2 separate regions of the Homo sapiens genome follow, and region 2 is linked to region 1. Evidence: promoter capture Hi-C in 16 types of primary human blood cells and fetal thymus (Javierre and others, 2016). All regions are on one chromosome and are shown on one strand. The core of a region is centred on a gene start or on the middle of the fragment in contact, and the rest is flanking DNA. Distances in the headings are between cores, read along the strand shown.

Region 1 (4,966 bases), core at 1,128-3,627:
TTCCAGAAAAGACTATAAAAAATAGATTTTTTTTTTTTTAGTAAAGATAACACTCACTTTACAAAAACAGGGGCTCCTAATTTATGGTGTGTAAGTAAAATTTTATCTTTGAAATTATGAAATTTTTTATGCTGTTTTTGGATGACAAATACCTTTAATTTATTTATATATCTAAAATTCCAAAGGAAATATGTGCTTATTGTAAAATAGTCAAATACAACGAAATGTGCAAACTAGAGAATTATAGGTCATGTTTTCATATTAAAATAAAATGGGGCCGGGCACGGTGGCTCATGCCTGTAACCCCAGCACTTTGGGAGGCTGAGGTGGGCAGATCACTTGAGGTCAGGTGTTCAAGACCAGCCTGGCCAACATGGTGAAACCCTGTCTCTACCAAAAACACAAAAATTAGCCAGGCGTGGTGGCACATGCCTGTAGTCCCAGCTACTCAGAAGGCTGAGACAGGAGAATCACTTGAATCTGGGAGGTGGAGGCTGTAGTGAGCTGAGATCGCACCACTACACTCCAGCCTGAATGACAGAGGGAGACTCCGTCTCAGAAAAATAAATAAATAAATAAATAAATAAATAAATAAATAAATACATAAAATAAAATAGGAAATAAATAGTAAAAATAGAATGAAAATGCTCAGTCACTAAATAATGAAGAAAGATGCTTGGATTTCAGAGGAACTTTACAAACAAAAAAATTATCTAGAAACCAGTAAAAAAATTCCCATAAAATACAAAGTCTATAATAAAACAAAAAGTGCTCTAAGTGCCTTCATTAGAGCAAGAAATAGACGAGTAAGAAGGAGGAAATAAGAATTTGTCTTCTTATTTCAAGAAATTAGAAAAATAGATTTGGAAAATAGAAATTAGAAATCAGAAAATTAGAAAAATAGATCCGAATAAACAAGAAATTTATGAAGATAGAAACTTAATGAAACGCAAAAAGTCAAGAGAATAAATCTATCCTAAAGCTGTTTTTTTTTTTTAAAGACCTGGAATATAGGAAAACCCCTTGTGAGTTGAATAAAGGAAAAAAAAAGTCAAAGAGGCATCATAATGAAAATGAGAAATTTTCATGTAAGGGAGGACACAAGAATTATAATGATCAAATGCAACTCTGTGACAAAACATTTGTTATAGAAATGAGTACTTTTCTAGCAAAATATGAAGCATCAAAATCAACTGCTATCAAATTACCATATTGAAATCCCCTTACTGACCAATCACATTTTTATCTGATATTTCTTTTGAAATATTAATACTGTTAGTGAGATTGCAAGATATTCTAGCCCATGAGCCAAATTCTCTTTGCAAATTCTCTTTAAGCATTAAGTTATTAAGTACTGAGTATTAAGTTTTGAGTATTAAGAGCTCGAATTCTGAAGCCATACTGCTTGGGTTTAAGTCCTTGCTCTTTCATTTATCTGTCTTTATGAAATTGACCTTAAGCAAATTACTTAACTTTTCTGTGCCTTATTTTCCCCTCTACACAATAGGCTTGGTGATACTAAGAGTAACAGTATTACCTCATAGGCTTGCTTTTCAGACTCCATTATGTAATGCACAGAGAAAACAAATAATAGAGGGTTGGCGCAGAGTAAGAAATATAGCAATTGTTTTGCCTTTGATTTTGTCTGTGCATCCAACAAATGTTTTTGAACATTTACCTCGGTGTCTGTTCTATTCTAGCTACAGGGGCTGTGGAAATAAGCAAGAATAAGTACCTGCCCTTATGAAGTTTACATTCTACTGGGAAAGACAGACAATATACGTAACATAGTATAATTTCAAGGAGTGACAAGAGCATTGATCTATTGTGTGGTGATTTATAGCCAATAAAATAGTTTAGTGTTCAGTTTTACATAATACAATGCTCATTTCTATTATAACCTTCAGTTTACTATGTGATGACAAATATGACAAAAAGTTCAGACTTCAACAGGAATATTTCGGTTTGAATCTTAGCTCTGCTATATAGTATGTACCTTTGGTCAAGTTTACTTAACATATCCGCTTTGATTTATTCATCTGTAAAATATGGATACTAATACCCCTTTCCTAGAACTGTGATGATATTAAATGAATTAAGTGGCTGTAGCATGAAACATGTTACTTTTATCTTTCCTTCCTTCTCTCCATTCATTCATTCATTCATTCATTCCCTTCCCTCTCTCCATTCATAATTCCCTCTTTTCTGTAGACTTTTCTTTATGCTCTCTCTTCTTTCTTTGGTCTTTTCCCATTTTATTTTTCTTTTTCCTTGGGAATTATGGCACATATTCATTGACACATGCTTGAAAGTAATCAGAGTAAGATAAATATTTGTCTTAACATGCTCTGTCTTACAAGCTAAAGAGGGAGTAAAATGGAATGGGAAAACCACACCATTCTGGTGGAATTTTTTCTGAAGGGACTTTCTGGTCACCCAAGACTTGAGTTACTCTTTTTTGTGCTCATCTTCATAATGTATGTGGTCATCCTTCTGGGGAATGGTACTCTCATTTTAATCAGCATCTTGGACCCTCACCTTCACACCCCTATGTACTTCTTTCTGGGGAACCTCTCCTTCTTGGACATCTGCTACACCACCACCTCTATTCCCTCCACGCTAGTGAGCTTCCTTTCAGAAAGAAAGACCATTTCCCTTTCTGGCTGTGCAGTGCAGATGTTCCTCAGCTTGGCCATGGGGACAACAGAGTGTGTGCTTCTGGGCGTGATGGCCTTTGACCGCTATGTGGCTATCTGCAACCCTCTGAGATATCCCATCATCATGAGTAAGGATGCCTATGTACCCATGGCAGCTGGGTCCTGGATCATAGGAGCTGTCAATTCTGCAGTACAAACAGTGTTTGTGGTACAATTGCCTTTCTGCAGGAATAACATCATCAATCATTTCACCTGTGAAATTCTAGCTGTCATGAAACTGGCCTGTGCTGACATCTCAGGCAATGAGTTCATCCTGCTTGTGACCACAACATTGTTCCTATTGACACCTTTGTTATTAATTATTGTCTCTTACACGTTAATCATTTTGAGCATCTTCAAAATTAGCTCTTCGGAGGGGAGAAGCAAACCTTCCTCTACCTGCTCAGCTCGTCTGACTGTGGTGATAACATTCTGTGGGACCATCTTCCTCATGTACATGAAGCCCAAGTCTCAAGAGACACTTAATTCAGATGACTTGGATGCCACTGACAAACTTATATTCATATTCTACAGGGTGATGACTCCCATGATGAATCCTTTAATCTACAGTCTTAGAAACAAGGATGTGAAGGAGGCAGTAAAACACCTACTGAGAAGAAAAAATTTTAACAAGTAAATGAGAAAGGTGAGAGTAATTTTATAATCACAATATGGAAATCAATTAGAGAAACCAAGGTTAAACAGATAGGTTCTCGTTGCTGTTTCACATTCATCTCTCGAAGTTCTAAAGCTCCAAAATACACTTCTCTGATTGCGATACATAATGAAAAGAAGTAAATAAATAAATTTCAGTGTTTGGAAATAAGTTTCTATTCTGTTCCATTGGTTGATATGTCTATTTTTATCTGAGTACCATGCTCTTTTGATTACAATAACTTTATAACATATTTTAAAACTGCAGCATATGGTGCTCTCAGCTTTGTTTTTGCTTCAGATTGCTTTGCCCAGGCAGGGTCTTTTCTAGTTCCATGTAAATTTTAGGATTGTTGTTTCAATTTTTATGAAAAATGACATTGGAATTTTGATACAGATTGCATTGAATCTGTAGATTGCTTTAGGTAATATGGACATTTCACAATATTAATTCTTCTAATCCATGAACATGTAATATCTTTCGATTTACTTATGTCTTCTTCAATTTTTTTATCAATGTTTTATAGTTTTCAGTGTATAGTTCTTTTACGTCTTTGGTTGTCTTTTTTATTTTGGAGAGATTGGCAACCAACTCATCTAAAATGATATGTGATCATTAAATAACAAGTAAAAGAATGAGGGTTCAAAACAAAACAACTCTACATTTTTTGCTGGAACATGTTAGCTCTCTTATTAGAAAATTATGTTTATTGGCTTGTATTTTGTGAGATGAGGGGTATATAGTGATGAGTCTATTTTGAGCTTGTACACCTTGGCCTATAACTTATTGTTAACATTAAAATGTAATGGGATAATATCTATAGACAAATAGAAAATTTCAAATAATCCCTTATTCCCCATCATTGCTAGGGATTCGACAGTTCTCTTAAAATTGCCTCATAGCTATACATTTGCACATATACTTCTTTTTGTTCTATGGATTTGTATATGCCATTGCTTTATAAGACATCCTTGATATACTTTTTGCAATTAGCCTTTTCAGGCTCTTACAGACAGCCTCTATTATACTAAAAGCTACGTAAAATGAAATCTTTAAAAATGAGATGTTATTCTCGGTCCCTAAATACTGGGGTAGTTTGAAGATGTCAGGATGTGTTGTCTGCCATGATTCTGAAAAGACTAACATTAAAAGCCATAGTTTTCATTCTCCACTGGCCTGGGGAAACTGATGTTCTGTTATCTATGAAAACCTGGGGGAAAATATATTATTTAATATTATCTTGAGTTATCATAGCCATGAACTACCTTGAGTTCTAAAGATTAAGTCTCCAGGGTTTCCATATATAGTTCATTAAGTGTCTTCTTTATGTGAAGACACTTTGTTGCTCAGACCAATGTCATGGAAATTTGGAGGTTCTGGGGAAATTCTGGAGGCCATGCCCTGCATACAGAATGAATGCTGATCTAAGGTAAACTAGAGCTACAAGGAACTAAAGTCATGTGCCATTTAACAACGTTTTGATCAATGACAGATAACATATAATGGTGGTCTCAGGAGATTATAATTTTATATTTTTACTGTGACTTTTCTTGTTATTTTAGATACACAAATACCATTGTGACACAATTGCCTATAGTGTTCAGTACAGTAGCAT
Region 2 (4,776 bases), core at 143-2,642, 3.0 Mb after region 1:
ATATACTATGTGCTAAGCCCTGTGCTTGTTGCATAACAATGATAATAATAATAGCAGCTAACATTTGTTGAAGACTTACAACCACATGAATGAGATCACTATGGGCACCATCCTCATGGAAACTTACAATCTAGCAGGGAAGGCAAATTATAAAAATAATCCCAAGTGTTGTCAGTGCTATGTGAAACTGTAGGTATAATGGGAGGGTGTTACAGGTCTAGGGGTCAGTGAAGGTTTTCCTCAGGAAGTGACATTTAAGAGTTAGCTAGACAAAGAAGTAGGGATGAGGAAAAAGTGTCCCAGGCCGACTGAAGACTATATGCAAGAGCTCTGACCAAGCAAAATGTTTGTTTTGGAAATGAGAGAACTGGCCAAAGCTTGGAAGGCCAGGGGGAGAGCAGGACGACAAGGCTAGGAAAAGGAAGGCAGGAGCCAAACATGCTGAACCTTAGAGGCCATGTGAGGAGTTTGGACTTCATCCCAAGGGCCATGGGGGAGCCATTGATGGGCATTAAGCAAGTGAGGGACATGATCAGATCTGAATTCTAAAATTTCTCTGAGTGGATCAGAAAGGAAGAAAGGGAATATGTGGATGACAGAAATGATGGTGACTCAAATAAGAGCAGTGGCAGTGTTTGCAAAACATCTCCATGTTAGAGTGAGGTCCCTGTCAGGCTAATAAGATGCTTTCTCTCCTGGAGTCTGCTTATTTGCTAATCCTTGAAGGAACTTTCAATTCTCAGAACCTCAGAACCTTTGCCTTCACAGAGCCAATAAGACAGATATGGGAGCTGATGAGCAAATACAACAGAAAGTCATGCAAAGGAAAAACACAAAGAGACAGTCCTCCAGCAGAATTCTGAGCCTGGGTCTGCTGGTTCCCTGATTCCTTCCATGCTTTGGAAAGGAACGATGTGCTGGTGCATTCAGAAAAGAAAATGAGACCCAGAAAAGCAGGATTTCCCTAAAAATCCTGGTCATAGACCATAAAAGTATTATCACAACATAATGTAAAGAATGTATTTCTGGAAGGAATTCTGTTTCTATATGAGAGAAAGGTATTTTAATTAATGATTCTACAGCCCTTTTACCTTAAAGAGAGGGTTTGTTTAGAAAGCTTGAGTTGTAAGCTATACTGTTAGCTTAGTTTGTGCTAAGTGAGATGACAAAGCTGTCACCTTCCTCTAAGTTCAAAGAACAGTTATCAATTAATTACTCATCAAGTATTTTCTTGAGCAACTACAAAATGAAAGGCATTAGAAATACAAGGATAAATTAAAATTAACATTATTCTTGTTTACATGGAGCTTCCAGTTAGTGAAGAAACTGAGAGTCTAGACGCTAATCACATGATTACATAATTAAATTTAAAACTGCAACTGTGATAGATTCTACAAAAGATAGGTATATGTACTGTAAGGGCTTACGAAAAAAGAATCTGGCCTACACAATAAGTTAGGGAAGTAATTACTGAACTGAGAGCAGAAGAATGCATATAAGTTAAATGGATAAAGCAGGATAGAAAAATAGACTAGATAAAATGAATTAACTTGACAAACAGATATAGACTACCTGCAAGGTGCCAAAGGTCGTGATAGGTAACTGTATTACACAAACAAATGAAAGTTGGTCTGCAAGTTACAGAAAATAGGATGGGCTGAAGCTTGTTAATTCCTAGTTGTGAGAAGTTGGTGTTACTTTAACTATCCAAGCCTCAGTGTTTTAATCTGCAAAATAAGAAAATAACATCTATCTTGTAAGATTATTGTGAAAATTTTAAAAGCCCTTAGCTTACCGTCTGGCATACAAGTAGCAAATCCAGACAGAGGGAGTCAGTATGATATAGTATCAGAAGCAATGTTACACAGTTGTCAAAAGCTGAATGTCTTTGATCAGGCTGAATTCCAATCCCAGGTACAATTACTAGCTCTGTGACCTTGGACAAATGACACACTTTCTAATCTTCAGTTTCTTTATGTAAAAAGATGATAGACATATCTACCTCACATTTCTTGGTAGGATCAAAGGAGATAATGCACGGAAAGGTCAAAGATTACTTAAATAAATATTTGCCTACATATTTTATATGTACAAGCTACTATATCAGCACAGATAAATAAGTAGTTATGTTTCTCTATTGTTGTTGTTTTGGGTAGGAGGGTGAAGCTAGACAAGACCAAAGGCTTCACATAGAAAATTTTCACCTAGGTCTTTGCCTACATATTTTATATGTACAAGATACTATATCAGCACAGATAAATAAGTAGTTTTTTCATTGTTGTTGTTCTGGGTAGGAGGGTGAAGCTACACAAGACAAAAGACTTTACATAGAAAAATTTGACCTAGGTCTTGAAAAATTAATAGATGTTGGACAGACAATGCTGATAAATGTGCCTTGCGCAAGCCATACGACTGCAATTTGCTACTATGAGAACAGCCCCGGGGGTTCAAGGCATAAGGATAATATTTTTAAAAGCCTGGTGAGTTCCTCCTAATAAACATCATCGCTTCAGTTGTTGTCATGAGCTAGAATGCAAGATGATGTAGTAGATAATAGCACATGCTTTGAAATAAGATAGACATGGGTTCTGAGCCAGTCCCTGCTACTTACAACTGCATGACCTTATGCCCATTACTTCACTTCTCTGAGCTTCAGTTTACTCATCCCTAAGAGGAAGTAACAACAGTGCCCTCTTCACGAAGCTATTATGAGGATTCAGCACGATAATGTATGTAAAGCTCTAAGTATCTTGTTTGGCGCATAATAAGTGTTTAATAAATGTTAAGTATTGTTATTATTGTTGATGTGGCATTAAGGTTATGCTGGCATAAAACATTAGAATTTGTTCAGTGCATGGAACAATTACATTAAACTTAGAGCAAGCTATATTACTTACTTAACAGTGGAATACCAAAGAAATACAATGAACAACAGGTTTTAAGAGTTCCTATATGGCAGTGGTTGCAGGTATTTATCTTTGTCACCCTAGTAACTTTGAGAACTCTACAGAGTAGGCCTTCAATAAGTGTTGAATAAATGAACGATTTTGCTGATTTTAAAATATTTTTTATACTTGTAAACATGGTAAGTGTTTCTGCAGATAATCTGTAAATAAAAAATACATCTGTAAATTCAACACCAATGTGTTTTCTTCCAAGGTGTGTGTGCATGTGCGTATGTGTGTGTGTGTATAATATATATGGGAAATCATGGCATTTAAATAAATGTATACATGTTTTGTTTTGATCATACCATATGAAAGCTTTTTTCCACTTGCCATATGAGCATTTGCCTTGTTTTATGAAACATACTTTACAAACATGATTTATATGTTGCATTACACTCTATAAGAATATACCATATAATTTATTTAACTATTACCTTATTGTTACACCTTTACTGTGTGTCAAAACTAATTCATCTTCAAATATATGTTATTTGTCACCATATTCAGTGAGTTCTTAATCATTTTTAGGGTAAACAACTTAAAAACCTAATTATTAAAAAAAATACTCTGTATTATCTCCCTCCTAGATGAGAACATTTTATGAAAACACTAAAAATAAATTCAATAAACAAAATGTAATATAGCCTAAAGGTGGCTAAACACAAAAGTGATGTAGTCACAGCATTAGCGCAGGTTTATTGTAATCTCAGGATGTAAGGTTTTAACTTGGCCTTTATGTTATTCTAACCAAGGAGTATCATAATCTTTATTATGAATGTACACTTTGTCTGATATGCAGTTTACAATAATGAGACTAATTCTACATGCCAATTTGCATGGCTTCTAAAGAATTCTAATAGGTTCCAATATAAAGCAAAAAAAATTGTTTTGTATTTTTTGTTTGTCGTTTCCATCTGTTTGCTTCTAAAGATAGAGCAATTTCTGATGTAAAAAGCATGTAGCCATGTCTGCACATTTCTATGTACATGTTTCTGCCTGTGGGGGTTAGAAAAGTTCCGAATTATTATTAAGTTTCAAAGAATTATGAAAAAAATGTTAAAAAACACTTCTAAGAATAATTTTTATTTAAGCCATTTCTTTTTCTCCCTCATAGTTACATCATCCTTCCCAAGGATTCCGCTTTGGAACTGTCCGAGAAAGCAGTGCTGAAGATTATGTGAGACAAAGTTTCCCAGAGATGCATGAATATATGAGAAGGTACAATGTTCCAGCCACCCCTGATGGAGTGGAGTATCTGAAGTGAGTGTCAACCTCTTGGATCCAAAGAAAAATTCTCACTGAAGAGAAGTAATTTAGCTACTGACGCAGTATATGTTAGTTTCTGAAAATGACAGATGAATATACCCACGTTGTGTTAAGTAATACTTTACACTGTGTGAGATCCCAGGAGATGGTGTGAAATAGTGTGTATTTAATTATGTGACCTAGATTACTTGTGACCTGCATAGTCTCAAGTTGGTAGTAGCTTTGTTCAAAGAGTCAGTGGGGCCATTAGCATAGCAGATGGTGGAGGAAGTAAATGTTGGCTTTACATCACTTGAGAATACAATGGTGCTGAAATAGTCAAACACACAGGGAATATGGCCAGAGGATAAAGTGTCCCAAGGCAACGTTTTCCTTCCCAGTGAATATATCTCTAAACCCATGGAATGCCTCCTCTTGCCATGAGGAAATGGAGTTTATCTTAGAGATTTCCTGTAGAAAGGAAATAAGATAGAAGACAATGATTCCCATGCCTGCATTCTTCTCATCAGAATTTATGAGAAGCAATCATGAGAAATCACACTGCCATGGCAGATTATCAGAG

What was found. The method cuts DNA at HindIII sites, captures the fragments that hold promoters and counts their contacts. A CHiCAGO score of 5 or more calls a contact.
Region 2: a fragment that was not itself captured here is called in contact with the fragment with the promoter of OR13C5 in region 1 in 1 of 17 cell types (endothelial precursors); the score reaches 5.9 in endothelial precursors.

Annotation. Positions count from the first base shown.
Region 1 is chr9:104,596,824-104,601,789 of GRCh38, reverse strand. OR13C5 (olfactory receptor family 13 subfamily C member 5) reads left to right here and starts at 2,377. Exons shown (of 1, transcript NM_001004482.1): 1 at 2,377-3,333. The coding sequence starts at 2,377. The coding sequence ends at 3,333. The region is part of intron 3 of LOC107987105 (a long non-coding RNA gene); the gene reads left to right. The HindIII fragment of the contact is 5,863 bases long and covers 1-4,966 here.
Region 2 is chr9:101,627,688-101,632,463 of GRCh38, reverse strand. GRIN3A (glutamate ionotropic receptor NMDA type subunit 3A) reads left to right here. Exons shown (of 9, transcript NM_133445.3): 4 at 4,063-4,208. Among named protein-coding and RNA genes, the nearest start is that of PPP3R2, 35 kb to the right of the region's middle. The HindIII fragment of the contact is 546 bases long and covers 1,120-1,665 here.